4 separate regions of the Homo sapiens genome follow, and all the other regions are linked to region 1. Evidence: promoter capture Hi-C in 16 types of primary human blood cells and fetal thymus (Javierre and others, 2016). All regions are on one chromosome and are shown on one strand. Each heading gives the region's core, a stretch centred on a gene start or on the middle of the fragment in contact. The rest is flanking DNA. Distances are from core to core; before and after follow the strand shown.

Region 1 (3,761 bases), core at 473-2,972:
AGAGTACATGTGCAGGTTTGTTAAATTTTGTGTCACAGGGATTCGTTGTACAGATTATTTCATCACCCAGCTACAAAGCCTACTCCCCAATAGTTATTTTTCTGCTCCTCTCCCTCCCCGACGCTCCACCCCTCAAGTGGGCCCCAGTGCCTGTTTTTTCCCTATTTGTTTCCATGAGTTCTCATCATTTAGCTCCCACTAATGTGGTATTTGGGAAAATCCAACTTTTGAAAGATCTTTAGTCTGCTAATCATGAATGGCCAACATAATTACAGGCATGCCAACATTTGTAACATTGTGACACTTTCCCTGCCATTCTTAGTTAAAACTGATCTTTTGTTCCAAAAATTTTTGCTACCAACAATAGCCTGTCCTTTATAGTTCTTTTATACTTTTGTGTCTTCTCTCTAACTAAATAATCAACTCTTTCAGCATTCCATCCATTTCCCTTTCTCCTCCCTCTTACTCCCAACCCACATTCCCCTCTCCATTTTAATTTTAACCTGTGCCCCTTCAAGTGTACTCCAGCTTTTTTTTTAAAATAATTTCAAGTGATACTTTGACTTTTGACTGCATATGGAAGCATAAGTAACATGTCCTTTCATTTTTGGATAATGAGTTTCCTGATTAATTACAGCTCAAGAGTAAAATGACTGATTACTATTTAATTCATTTTGTGCTTCTTTACAATAAAGTAAAGACAGAAGCCCCAGATTCAGGAACAGACAAAATACTTTAATCGCTATCACATTTTTTTTAAGTCTAGTCAATTAGAAAAGTCAAATCTTTCCTCACAGCCAAGCACATTAAAAAAAAATCTTCTCTGGTAATAAACTTGAAGCTTTAAATAATTCTACAATTATAAACATTTTGTGTATTTTGCAAATATGGCATAACCTGTTGGCATAAAATTCCATTGTTCCAGAAAATATCGGTAATAAAATTATAGAAAAGTTAAAGATCTTCATTTCTTATTTCGAAGCGTTTGGGAGACATTTCAGAAACGGATGGGAAATGTTAAATTCTGCATGCCTGCTTAAGTTTCCATCCACACCGACTAGATGTAAACGAGTGTCACCAAAAGTACACCACAGGCACCCACACAGATTCCTTCCATAAGGGATCCACAAAGTTTAGATGTGAAATGTACCTAAAGGTTCCTAGCCGTCTTTCATCCCTCCCTCTGTGAAACAGGGAGACACATGTGTTTTAAGGCAGAGATGGAACTTGGGCGATGGGCGGGGGGTGGGGGAGGTGGGAAGGGACGGCTTAGGACAGGGCAGGATTGTGGATTGTTTCTGCCGCCTTGGTTGCCCATACTGGGCATCTCTGCAGGCGCGTCGGCTCCCTCCACCCCTGCTGAGATGATGCACTGCGAAAACATTCGCTCTCCCCGGGACGCCTCTCGGTGGTTCAGAGCAGGGAAAATGTTGCCTCAGGTTTAAAATAATCTGCCCAAGCACCCCAGCGCGGGAGAAACGTTCTCACTCGCTCTCTGCTCGCTGCGGGCGCTCCCCGCCCTCTGCTGCCAGAACCTTGGGGATGTGCCTAGACCCGGCGCAGCACACGTCCGGGCCAACCGCGAGCAGAACAAACCTTTGGCGGGCGGCCAGGAGGCTCCCTCCCAGCCACCGCCCCCCTCCAGCGCCTTTTTTTCCCCCCATACAATACAAGATCTTCCTTCCTCAGTTCCCTTAAAGCACAGCCCAGGGAAACCTCCTCACAGTTTTCATCCAGCCACGGGCCAGCATGTCTGGGGGCAAATACGTAGACTCGGAGGTAGGCATCCGTGGGGGGGCGCCGGCTCGGGCGTGCGGGGAGTGTCCGCTTCTGCTATCTGCCTCTCCAAATATCCCGACTGCTGCCCTGGCCCCAGCCCTCTCTCCACTTCGGAGCACTCCTCTGGCGTTGGCACCGCTGAGGAATGGGCCTGGGCGGGGAGGTGAAGAGAAGCCAGGAATGTTTTATGTTTTCCTAATGGAGAGGGGGCCTAGGGAGCCCCTGAGCTAGGAGGACACGGAAAAGGGGATTGGGGTCCTGAGATTGGGTCTGTTGGGCCCAGGACGCGTTTTCTGGATGGGTCTAGGATGCTCCCTTGTCGCGGGACCCCCGCGGTCCGGCCCTGCCTGCTGGGGGTTCGAAGAGGTGGAGTGCAGGGTGGAGGTGTTATTTACCCGAGTCCTGGGGACAGTCCCCGGGACTCTCCGCCAGGCGCCCAGACCGGCAGGTCCCGCAGGCGGCGCGCGGTGTGTTTGCACTTTCCAAAGTTCTTGAACCATCTCAAGAACTCCTTCTGCATCTTGGCGTCTGGCAGGGGTGTTCCGAGAGAGGTAGACCTCCCCTCCCCAAACTGCCACCATCACTTCCAACGCCCTCCACGCGCTGGAGCTCTGCCCGGGTGTGGAAACCTCGTCTTCCAACACGTAGCTGCCCTTCAGCCACCCGCCCGCAGCCTGGGAGTGCCCTGAGGGTGGGTCGGGGGAGCTGCGCAGGTGAGACTGAGTTCTAGGACATTTAGGGGGTCTGGTGCCTGGCTCCGCCAAAAATGGGGACTTTCGGGATTGTGATCATCACGGCGGATTGAGCAGGGAGAGCCGTGGAGGGACAAGAGAGGGCCGAGGCAGGGTGGGGGGCGCGGGCAGGTGCGAGGGGGATGCGGCCAAGAAGCAGCGATAAAGGGAACATTCCACGGGTCGGGCGGCTGCTGTTGGATCTTAGATAAAGCTGGAAGGGATTACCGGGGCAGGGGTAATAGGGACCGGGGACGGGAACGCGAAACAGGTGAAGCGCTCAGGGCGAGAGCGACTCGGCTTAGGGAGTCCGGGAGAAGCCTGCGGCTGCCCCCTCGCCGCCGAGGTCCTGCGGGTCCTGCGGGTCCTGCGTGCTGAGCCGGGGCGTGCGCGGGCGGGGGCCTTCGGACCGCGCGGCGGGGCCTGCCCTGACCCCTGGCGGCGGGCGGGGGAGGCAGGCGCGCCCTGCAGAGTACAGAGGGGTGTGGTGTCCTCTGCGAGATCCTCTTAAAAAGCTGGCTACGCGCAGGCGGTTTCTGTGCACGGAGCCGTAGCTGTCGGAGCGGTTAGTTCGATTTCGAGCTCGAGGTTTCCCCCGCCGCCAGGCTGACTTCTCATCGCTTGTTTTTCTTTTTGCATTTTTCCTCCCACCGCCGTTGCCGCCCTCCCCGTCCTGGCCGTCCGCCCTCCGCCCTCTGCAGGGACATCTCTACACCGTTCCCATCCGGGAACAGGGCAACATCTACAAGCCCAACAACAAGGCCATGGCAGACGAGCTGAGCGAGAAGCAAGTGTACGACGCGCACACCAAGGAGATCGACCTGGTCAACCGCGACCCTAAACACCTCAACGATGACGTGGTCAAGGTAAGCCAAGGCGACCAACAGGGAAGGGCTGGGACAGCTCTCCTCTGGCAGTTAGCCCGTGCATCCTTCTTTAGCATTGCCGTGTACGCACACCCCACCCCGCCCCCTACACGCGCACACACACACACACACAGAGTTTTGTGGGTTTGATGTGTGGGAGCTCCCGCAGTCGGCAGAAACGTTACATCTCCCTTCCCCCATCTCCCCCCAATAGTTAGTTCAGCTGAAATTCAGCTAAAGTGAGTTTTGTAGAAGTTCCTATAACTACACTTTTATCCTAGCAAATGAGCCTATTGACCTCAGCAACAGACGGCCCATACTCCTTGGGACGGTGAGATGGTTCCTATCCATTCCCAGGTTGAAAGTCTAGTGACAGGTCCCCACT
Region 2 (3,761 bases), core at 695-3,194, 350 kb after region 1:
TCCTTAGCCCACATGATATGCCACTACCATAACCCAGGCTTACCAATCCAGAATGTCTCCTGGTGGACAGATTCACCCCTTGTTGAGACCCATGAGTCTAGATAGATTAGAGCTGGTAAGAACAGTTGAGAACCTGGCTTAAGTGGACTTTAGGACCTGGTTTAAGTTCGTCCCACAAGAAATGGAGGAAAAAAAGATCGCCAATAGATTTTAGAGTTGGAATCAAGAAGACTTGATAAATGAATATAGGGGAAAGGCGTGAGTCAGAGAAAACTGTGAACATTAAAGTCTGGATGACTGGGAATTGGTACCACTAGTAACAACTGGAGAACACAGGAAAGAGGATACACAGCTGGGAGGAATAATGGTGAATTTAGTTTTGGTTGTACGGAGTTTGAGATGCTAGTCATTGTCTATGTGAAAATGCCTAGCAGATACGGAGATAGAGAAACAGCTTGGAAAAGAGGTCAGCTCCAGAGATTATATAGAGATTTGAGAATCCTCTTTTTGTGGGTTAAAGCGAGATGGGATAAGCCCTTTAGGACAAAAAGCTTAGACATGGGAAAGAGGAGAGGGCAGGAAGCGTATACTTTATACTTTGATTTGAGGAATAAGAAGTGGAGAGAGACCTAAAGGTGAGGAGAAACCCTTGAGGTCGAAGTGTTACCTACTGATAGCTAGCACAGAGTAGGTGCTGAGGTCACAGAATGTGACGAGAATTTCAAGAAGGAGCGGTGCTCAGTGTTGCAGAGATTAAGGAGTATGAGATTGAAAAAAGCCTTTGGATTTAAGAGAAAGGAATGAGAAACAAATTATACCTACTCTATGCCAGGGACTTTAACATGTATTCTCTCTATTAATTGTCAGAATAACCTTGTTATTATCTTCATTGTACAGACAGGAAACTGGTGCAGTTAAGGCTGTTTAAGTGGTGGACTAGGGATTAGTGGCCTTCAAGAGAATAATTTTACTAGTGTTTGGAGCAAGGAGTGGAGAGACATAAGCCAGATAACTGGAGTCTATAATAAAAAGTATGTGTGTATTTTCCCTTTTCCAGAAACGGCATTTCAGTCTTGTTTGCCTTGTAAACTACTCATCTTTGGATAACCAGACTCAAGGACTTTCTTCTCTTCTTTTGTATCCTGACATACCTCTGCTCCCTAAGCAATTTGTACTTATCTTTGTTATAACATTTACCAGTTTTAATAAATTTACCTGTTGTCCTTATTTCCTGTGTTCTTCAGGGCCAGGCCTTATGTCTTCACCATCTTTGTAATTCCAGTAGAGCGCCTAGCCTGTATTAAATCAGTGATTTTCAACTCTGGCTGCACATTAGAATCAACTGGAGAGTTTATAAACAAAATGAACGCACAGGCTCCTCTTGTGGGTGAGGCCTGGAGTGTCTGTAATTCCTTTTTGTTGTTGTTGTTGTTGTTGTTTTAAAGCTTCCCAGGTGATCTGAATGTGCAACTAGGATTGAGTCTCACTGTATCACTGTATTAGGGGCTCAATAAATGTTGACTAAAGGATGAGGAGTGGAGACAGTAAGTACAAATTATTCTTGAAAAAAATTGGTAGTGAAACAAAAGAGAAAAATATGTATTACTACTTTGTTTTTTCCTGCTATTTCATTTTAAGAATACTTTTTTTTTGTAAGAGAACATTCTAGGGTGTATAAGGGAAATGATTCAGAAGGGAAAAGGAAATTGAAAACGTAAGATAAAGAATAGTTTACATAACTTACTTTCTTTTAGTTGATGATAATGCCTACTTTGGATTCATGGGTTTCTTCATATTTTAAATAAATGGTAAAAACATATTTAAAGAAGAATCAATGTTGAGTTCTTTAGATGACCCAGTTTCAGGTTAAGTGCTGTGGGCCCTGTTTTTAATTACCAATCAAAATGATAATTATAAAGGAAAAAAATTTAGAGGAAAACTTATTAAAACAAATTACCACTCTTAAGTTTACCCATATTAAGATAAATTCACCTGACACACAGACATGTGATAGTGATCACTTGGTCATAAACTATTTAAATGTCATAAAGTTCAAAAAAGTGGTTTTTTCCTCCGGTTTTACCTCTAATTCTCAAAAGACATAGCCATTTTTTAGAGAGCTGTGGAAGACAACTTCAAATAATTCTTTTAGTTGAAGTGGAAAAGTGCATAGTGGCTCCTTTAATTTTACTACCAGTGTCTAAAGCAGTGACCCTTTTTGGTGTTACATTTTCTTGAGAATCAAGTAAAACCTATAAGTCATTTCTCAAGAAGACTAGACACTTCAAATTTTACATCTGAAGTCCCTTAGGGCATGGGTGCAATATCTGGTCACCTTTCAGAATCACGTGGAGAGATTTTCTAAAACATAGATTTCTAGGTCCCCATTCTCTGGAGATAGATTCACTGGGTCTGGAATAGAGGGTGGGAATCTGTATTTTTTCCAAGCTTTCCAGGTGAGTCTGACTGCCGTTCATATCTGAAAAATTCCTACCCTAATGTCTCCTTCCTTGATCATGGCGGCCCATACCATGTGGAAATTATAGGGGCTCTAGGTAGGATTCTCAGATAAAATACTGATGCCTCAGTAAATTTGAATTTAAGCTAAACGGTGAGTCATTTTTAGTATAGCTATTTCCCATAGTAGTGTACCTTTGGACTGCTGGAGAGTGCAGGGTCCTTTGCTTCTAAATTTAATGGCTCTAGATGGCTGTTTGGGGGTTTTGTTTTTTGTTGTTGTTTTTTGGTGGTGTGTATGTGTGTACATGTATGTCTGTGTGCTACCATGCACATACATTGTCTGCTTTTTATACTTTCATCTCCTTTAAACCTTGCTTAAGGTTTAAAAAAATTTTTTTTAATTTTTGTTAGTTTACCATTTTTATAGCTGCTTTGGTGAGGACTCTATTTCCTGTTAAGGAATTGTTTTCTTCAGACAGTTTTAAAATCTCCTGGAACTCAAGTTTTACCTTAGTGTTTGAAAACATGTTGCCAAATGTTCAGCAAAGGCACTAGAACAATCTGGAGAATTCATGGACATAAGCAGGTGAAGTAACATTAATTTTGCCATCTATTTCTGTAAATTGTGGTAATGATTGACAACCCACAGTAAACTCTCACGTTGTACCCTCATGTTCTAGATGGTAATTATAAAACTGAAGTAGCACTACCAATTGCTTCTGACTTCCAGTAATAAACACATCTTGAAGAGGTGACATAGGCTGAGGGAACCCAGTCACTTCCACCTGTGGTACTTCACCATGGAGCTTGTCTTTGCTTGAGAAAGGTACATTCTGTACCATTAATGCAAAGAGTGACACAGTCAAGGATTGCAAGGCAGAAAGATACATGTGAAGCTTATGTTCATCCAGCCCTCCTTCCCTTTGTTCTCTTTCCCTGATAAGTTTTTCAGTCTTATTCAGCAATGTAGGTGTAAGATTGTACATTTCCAAATTCCATATTCCAAGTATCATAGGCCATTAAAAGTACTAGATGTTTTGCACTCACTACTTTTTCTGAGATATCACTCAAGGCCAAAGGCAACAATTCAAAAACCTGCTGATACTTGCCTGGTTCATCAGGGTATCCCATAATGATACCAAGGCTTTTGATCACAGCTTCTCATATCAAATATGCTTTACCTTCCATTTAAGGAGGACCAGGGAGTTAGGAACTTCTTGAGGAAAGTAAGGCACCACTACTCCACAGGATTTAGCTACAAGTAGTGTCCTTTTTGGGTCTTTGTGACTCACCTCTTCCCA
Region 3 (3,761 bases), core at 889-3,388, 320 kb before region 1:
TACCTTATTACCAAGTTTTATTGTAAAGTTTATCCCTGGGCATTTGGTTTTGCTAATTAGTGGATCTGGTTTTTGTTTGTTTGTTTATTTCTTAATGTAGATTTTTGTAGAGATTGAAAATTACACAGACACTCCTCTGTCCCCCTAAAATGCTTGAAATAATGTATTTTTAAATAAGGTTTTTCCATTTAAAATAGTCATACTAATCATGGAATATTTTTAAAAGGAGGAAAGAAATCCCCATGGACCCACCAATCAAAGGCAAACTGCGGGTGACATTTTAGTGTATTTCCCTCATGTTCTTTTTCTATTCATGGTATTTTTGTATAGCTGTGAGCATACTGTATATACAATTCCATATTATATTCTGTTCTTATAACATTATAATTGTTTTCCATTACAAACATTCCTAAGTATCATTGATCAGTAACTATGCTAAATCTGTCATGTGGCTCATCCATTATTTACTTAGTCAATCCCCAATTTTTGGTCAATTAAAAAAGTTATGGGATATTAGTTTGCTCTAAGCTACATTGGCACCTATTTTCTTTAAAAAATATCCCTAGAGAACAACCTGTAATCTTATACAACCTGCTAATGAGGAATAATAGCTGTGTCAGGCTCACAAAGGAGTTCCTATGACAGGTGTTAATAAATGATTAACATCTCTAAAGAGGCCTCCTGGGACCACATTAATAATTGATGAGACAGGTGTATCATTTTCATCTTGAAATGTTTACCTCATCTAGTATAGAAAAGTTTTCAATAATTATTTTCCCTGGCATATGTAGTGTTTACTCCGTATGTGTATTTATGTGTGTATATGTATATATGTTTATGTATGTGTACTTGTGTATGTAGCATCATCTGTATCTTCAGCCCTGATGTTTCTTTTGTCCACCAGACTCATATCCTATTGGCCTTGCCAAATCAATACACACAAAACAAAACCCATTATCTTTCTCAATCAAATTTTCTTCTCCACTTTTGTTTCCTGCCTTAAGGTGTGTGTTATATCCACCAAACTGGTCACCCAAAATAGATTCCTAAGAGATAGAAAATAGAATCCTAATGGATTCCTTATCCTCTCTCTTTTCAAGAATCAGTCAAGTCCAATATTTTCTACCTGTTTAATATCATTGATAAATCCTTCTAACTCTCCACAGTCATTGCTACTGCTTTACTTTGGCCCTCATCATATTTCTTGTGGGCTATAGCTAGAATCTCCTGATTAATCTTCCATTCTTTAGACTTGTCCTATTCATTATCTACCCCCATTCCTAGCAATAAAATAAACATCTACAACTTTTTGCCCAAGTGGGGTTTCTGTAATTTAAATAGTTTTTGAAATGTTCAGAAACATTGAGTACACCAGAACACACAGAGGGGAACAATAGACAATGGTACCTACTTGAGGGTAGAGGGTGGGAGGAGGGTGAGGTTCAAAAAGGTACCAGTTGTGTACTATGCTCACTACCTGGCTGATGAAATCATTTGTAAACCAAACCCCAGCAACATGCAATTTAATCATGTAACAAACCTGCAGATGTACTCCCAAACCTATAATAAAAGTCAAGGGAAAAAGTTCTCCAATATCGACAGAAAGAAAAATCTTCTGCTTGTACTTACTAAGCCTCTTCCTTTGCTAATTTCCTTGTAACATCTGAAACAGAGATAGATATCTTTGGAGGCATTTGGAAAACTCTTATTACTCCCTCTCTGTGAGATTTGTCCTACCTATAAGTTTGGGCTTTAGTCTATGTGTTGTCCTTTGTGTCTCTCAACTGGCACCAGCTTCAGCTAATTGAATCAGAAGTTTAAGCTTATCCAAGCTGGGCTATTTAAAGTCTTTTTGTTAGAGGGGTTGAAATCCCAAACTGGGTATTTTGCTTGAACTAGGGTGATGTCAATTAACGAGCTGAGACTGCCTTTATTGGTTGCCCATGTGTGCAGGAAAACAGAGTCTTCAAAGAGAAAGAACTAAAGCTGATGGAGGCCAAGCAGCAAGATGAGAGACCACATAACCCCAGTGAAGGAGTAGATTCCTTGTTCCAGATGTTGGCAAGTGCCTGGTCTAGTCGCAGATGCATCTGGCCCTTGAGTTTTGCAACAAGCCTCTGTATCCTTAAAATAAAATGCCATCTTTTTAAAAGTAAACTAGCTCGAGGGTTACTATTACTTGTGATATGGTTTGTATATTTGTCCCCACCCAAATCTCATGTTGAATTGTAATCCGTAATGCTGGAGGTAGGGCCCAATGGGAGGTGTTTGGATCATGAGTGGCTTGGGCCATCCCTTTGGCAATAAATGAGCATTCTCTCTGAGTTCACAGGGGAGCTGGTCATTTAAAATTGTGTGGCACACCTCATCCTCCCCCACCAACACATTCTGTCTCTCTTGCTCCTGCTTTTACCATGTGAAGTGCTTTCTCCCACTTTGCCTTCTGCCATGATTGTAAGCTTCCTGAGGCCTCCCCAGAAGCCAATGCAGAAGGTATGCTTCCTGTACAGCCTGTAGAACTGTGAGCTAATTAAACCTCTTTTCTTTATAAATTACCCAGTCTCAGGTATTTCTTTATAGTAGTGCAAGAACGGCCTAATATAACTTGCAATCAAGAGTTTTAACTAAGACACTTATTCATCTTCCAAGACTAAGCCAAGGTTACTCTTTTCTAAAGATTTTACAAATCCCAATACCACCTTCTCCCTGACTCTCACGTGTGCTTCCCTCTACCTGTAACATTTCATTACTCTTACACACCTGCTACTCCCATACTAATCTGTAAACTGCTTAAGAACAAAGGGAATGTCTTATGTATTTTTACATCTCTCCAGTGATGAAGGGTACATAAAAGTTTAACACATTTCCCTCATCGGATATTGTAATTTGATAGCATAGAAACTGAATTTAACCTGAATAAATATTTTGTTTGGCCTATACAGAGAACTTCAGTCTCTCTCTCTCTCTCTCCTCTGTCTCTGTCTCTGTCTGTCTCTCTCTCTCTGTGTGTGCCTGCACACATGTGTAAAATCTAGTATTTTCATTTACTTCTCTAAAGATAAAGATCTTAAGACCATTCCTTAGTATTATCCAGTATAGTATATTGATTTCCTCTCTACTTGATTGAAACAGCAGAGTTGGGCATTTATTTGGCTGATGTGTCCATAAGTTTTGTGGAAAAGTCAAGTCCAACATTGACTAAAGCACTCTGGTAGAAACAAAGGGAGATAAAATTATAAAGTAATATCTTTCCCCACAACTGCACCAAAAATGCACTTTCCAAAGTCACCAATGATCTCCTTTTTGTTAAATCCGAAGGGCATTTGACCCTTTTCTACAATTTGACATTGTTAACTAATTTCTTCTTCAATTTCCTTTCTTGCTTTTAGGGATTTGACTCCTAATTTTTTTCTTACCCTTAATCTAGCCCTTATCTCTTTTATGTGTTTCTCTTGCTCAGCCTTGCTCACTTGGTGTCTTTGATATTCTTCTCTTTTATTTTACTGTCTCCGAGGCTCATCTCACTTCTTGGCCTTTAATTATTTATTTATGTAGGATGTGAACTCCTAAATCAGCATTCAAGATGTATATTTGGATACTCATTTCAATGTCTCAGTCTCAAACTCAATATATTAAAAGTTGTATCCTTTATGTCCACCACCAGCCCCAAAGAATGCACAACTGAACAAAACCCTGACCATCATCCTATATTTTCTCTCTTTCTGAGCTATCCATAGAGGTGATCAAGATAGAAATGTGTG
Region 4 (3,761 bases), core at 829-3,328, 260 kb after region 1:
GCAAGTCCCTTCTGCCTATGAGCCTGTAAAATAAAAAAACAAGTTAGTTGCTTACAAGATACAACGGGGGTACAGGCATTGGGTGAATGCTCCCATTCCAAACGGGAGAAATTGGCCAAAGCAAAGGGGCTCCAGGCCCTACACAAGTCCGAGGCCCTATGCAAGTCCAAAACCCAGCAAGGCAGTTATTAAATCTTAAAGCTCCAAAATAATTTTTTTGACTCCATGTCTCATATCCAGGGCACGCTGATGCAAGGGATGGGCTCCCAAGGCCTTGGGCAGCTCTGCTCCTGTGGCTCTACAGGGCTCAGCCCCATGGCTGCTTTCATCGGCTGGCATTGAGTGCCTGCAGCTTTTCCAGGCACACGGTGCAAACTGTCAGTGGATCTACCTTTCTGGGGTCTAGAGGATGGTGGCCCTCTTCTCACAGCCCCACCTGGCAAAGCCCCAGCACTAAGGGGAGGTCTCAGGGAGCTTTTTACCCATGGCAGAAGGCAAAGCAGGAGCAGGCATCTTGCATGGCAGGAGCAGGACCAAGTGGGGGGAGGGGGAGCATCTTATATGGCAGGAGCAGGACCAAGGTGGTGACAAGCTTTCACCAAGGGGAGAGGTGCCACACACTTTTAAACAACCAGATCTCCGTAGAATTCTATCACGAGAACAGCACCAAAGGGAGAAATCTACCTCCATGATGCAGTCACCTCCCACCAGGCCTCAGCTCCCACACTGGGGATTATAATTCAACATGAGATTTGAATGGGGACACAAATCCAAACCATATCAATCATTCTCCAAGACAACTTGAAAGGAGTAGAAGCAGGAAGATGAAGTGAGAAGTGGAACTTGAAATAAGACACAATGAGAATGGAAAGGAAGAGATGAAAGGAGGAGCATCTCAGAGGTAGAATCAGAAGTATTTACCAAGGAATTGATAAAAAGTCAAAGATTAGCAAAGATATATGCTCATGCAATAACACATATATGAAGCACAGAAGCAAAAGCTGGACTCAGAACAAAAATAGCAAGTTGAGCCTTAAACACACTGAGTTTGCCTTGGGAGTAGAATGTCCAGGCAGAGAAGTCCATCAGGCAATTGAAAATGTGAATCTGCAACTTGTAAAAAATGTATTATTCAGCCTGGGCTGTCATACAATAGACCACAGACTGGTTGGCTTAAACAACAAAAATGTATTTCTAACCATTCTGAAGGCTAGAAGTCCAAGATCAGGATGTCAGCATGGTTGGGCTCTATTGAGGGCTCTCTTCCTGGCCTATAGATGGCCACCTTCTTGCTGTGTCCTCACATGGCTAAAAGAATAAGAGTCAGTTCTCCAGTATCTCTTCTTAGAAGGGCACTAATCCCAGCATGAATGCCCACCCTCATGACCTTGTCTAAACTGAATTACCTCTAAATGGCCCCATCATTAAACATTGTCACAGTGGGGCTTAGAGCTTCAACATATGAATTTCCGGGGAACACAATTCAGTCCATAGCAGGGGTCAAGGCTGGGAATATGCTTTTGAGAGTCCAAAAGCAATTATTCAGTAGTCCAAAAGCAATTATTCAACTACATATATAAAGTGAAAGAGAAAAGCAGTGAGGTAAGGGACCCAGAAGCAAAGACCACCATGAAAGTCAGAGTAAGAGAAAGTTTCAAGGAGAAATTGGATGCTCAACAGAGTCCACTGCTACTCAGTACACCAGAAGGGTCTTGGAAGCTGAGTAACTTGAGTGATTTGGAGGTCTAGAGTGTGCTTAGGAGCACAGGTGTTGAATGGAATGGAGAGTACACTTATTCTATTCACATGTTGTAAGTCAGAGGACTGTGATGTCTGAAGATAGAGAAACATTTGATGTTTCAGTCCTTAAGGATGACAACTAAAAAAGGAAAATGTGCAAACAAAGTAGTCAGAAAATAATGTTCATGGGGGACATGCACTTGAAGAGAAAGGGTTGGTAGCTTTTGAGAGATGATGGGTCAGAGATCTGAGTGTGGCATGGGAAGCAAGAAGTCATCTCATCCACCTCTCTGTGAATCAGCAAGAGGGAGAGGTGTGACCCCTATTGGCAAGAGTTGCAAAGAAATTGTGACTTCAACTGAAAGCTGAGTTTCAGTTCCTGTGAGGAGGTAGGGGAACTATTAGAGAATAAGACGAGGTGACTGGGAGTTTGTTTTCAATGAGTAAGTAGGTCATAGGTCATGGTGGAGGACCAGGACTTCAGCATGCATGAGATTGGTAAGAGAAAGTGATAGTGCCATGTAGAGCTTAATGCCTGGGATTTTGATCCTGAAAGATTCTGAAAGAGGTGAAAGAAGTGGGTGCTAGAGAGGGAGACTGGGGACATGTTAGTGACAGTGGCAGGTGAAGGCAAAAGATAGGGAGAATTAACCCATCCTCCAAGAACATACTGTTCATTCAGACTTGAGGGTTAGTCTGCCATTAAGAAGCCAGAGCCAACCCTTACAACTCAATAATAAGACTGTCTTAGTCGTTTTGTGCTGCTATAACACAATACCACAAATTGGGGGATTTATAATGAACAGAAATGTATTTGGCCCACAGTTCTGGAGGCCAGGAAGTCCAAGATCAAGGGGCCACATGTGCTGAAGGTCTTCTTGCTGTGTCATAACATGGTGGAAGGCATCACATGGGTGTGAGAGAGTGCAAGAGAGAGCAAGAGGTGAACAGATTCTCTAACAAACCCCCTTCCACAATAATGAACTGACTCCCAAGATAATGACATTAATTCACCCATGAGAGTAGAGCCTCATGACCTAATTACCTCTTAAAGATCCCTCCTCTGAACACTGTTGCATTGGGAGGGGATTAAGTGTCCAACACATGAACTTTGGGGGACACATTCAAACCATAGCAAAGGCAATATTACTCAATTTTTTTAAGTAAGCAGAAGATTTGAATAGACATTTTACCAAAGAGACGTAAGAATAGCTAGCTAATGAGCACATGAAATGAAACATATGCCCACATGAAGATTTGTACATGAATGATCACAGTAGTTTTCTTCATAATAGCCAAAAACCAGAAGCAATCTTAATGTCCATCAACGGGTGAATGGATAAAAAAAAAATGTGGTGTGTCCATACAATGGACTAAACCATTCATCAACATAAAGGAATTACTGATGCCTACTACAGCATGATAAACCTCAGAAACATTATGTTAAGTGAAAAAAAGGCAGATAAAAAAATTACATGTTGAATGGTTCCATTTATATGAAATTTCTAGAAAGAGGCAGAACTACAGAGTCAGAAAACAAATCAGTGGTTGCCTGGGGCCAAGAGAAGGAGTGAAGATAAACCACAAATGGACATGAGGGAATTTTCTGGAATGTTGAGATGATCTAAAACTGGACTGTGATGATATGATAGCTGCACGTCTATATAAATTTACTAAACATCATTTAATCACTTTAATTTACTAAACATCACCAATCACTTAAAATTGGTGAGTTTTATGATCTATAAATTATACCTCAACAAAGCTGATTTATAAAAAAAGAGCCTGATGAAATTTTGGATGTTTAGGGCAAGTGTTGGGATTCTAAGCTTCTTGACAGCCACATACATGCAACAATACCCCCACCTCCCCAACAAACACACACAGACAGCACAGAGGCCAAGGCTTCCACCATAGCCACAGTCACTCAGATACTTGACTGGAAATGTACATAGATTTCTGCAGATAGGATGGTGCTATTTCTTTCTCACTCTCATCGAAAGACACTATTTTGTGCTACA

Evidence for each region. The method cuts DNA at HindIII sites, captures the fragments that hold promoters and counts their contacts. A CHiCAGO score of 5 or more calls a contact.
Region 2: a fragment that was not itself captured here is called in contact with the fragment with the promoter of CAV1 in region 1 in 1 of 17 cell types (endothelial precursors); the score reaches 5.3 in endothelial precursors.
Region 3: a contact is called between a fragment that was not itself captured here and the fragment with the promoter of CAV1 in region 1, in 5 of 17 cell types (naive CD8 T cells, total CD8 T cells, naive B cells and 2 more). The highest score is 7.8, in naive CD8 T cells.
Region 4: a fragment that was not itself captured here is called in contact with the fragment with the promoter of CAV1 in region 1 in 1 of 17 cell types (total B cells); the score reaches 5.2 in total B cells.

Annotation. Positions count from the first base shown.
Region 1 is chr7:116,523,314-116,527,074 of GRCh38, forward strand. It overlaps CAV1 (caveolin 1), which reads left to right and starts at 1,723. Exons shown (of 3, transcript NM_001753.5): 1 at 1,723-1,779; 2 at 3,212-3,376. The coding sequence starts at 1,750. RefSeq lists an enhancer at 1-76 and silencers at 2-296, 2,705-3,094, 3,325-3,424. The HindIII fragment of the contact is 5,040 bases long and covers 840-3,761 here.
Region 2 is chr7:116,870,572-116,874,332 of GRCh38, forward strand. All of the region lies in intron 1 of CAPZA2 (capping actin protein of muscle Z-line subunit alpha 2), which reads left to right. It also overlaps the pseudogene LOC100418716. Among named protein-coding and RNA genes, the nearest start is that of CAPZA2, 9.9 kb to the left of the region's middle. The HindIII fragment of the contact is 1,003 bases long and covers 1,444-2,446 here.
Region 3 is chr7:116,204,860-116,208,620 of GRCh38, forward strand. No RefSeq gene overlaps it. Among named protein-coding and RNA genes, the nearest start is that of TES, 3.8 kb to the right of the region's middle. The HindIII fragment of the contact is 637 bases long and covers 1,821-2,457 here.
Region 4 is chr7:116,784,869-116,788,629 of GRCh38, forward strand. All of the region lies in intron 19 of MET (MET proto-oncogene, receptor tyrosine kinase), which reads left to right. Among named protein-coding and RNA genes, the nearest start is that of CAPZA2, 76 kb to the right of the region's middle. The HindIII fragment of the contact is 2,977 bases long and covers 591-3,567 here.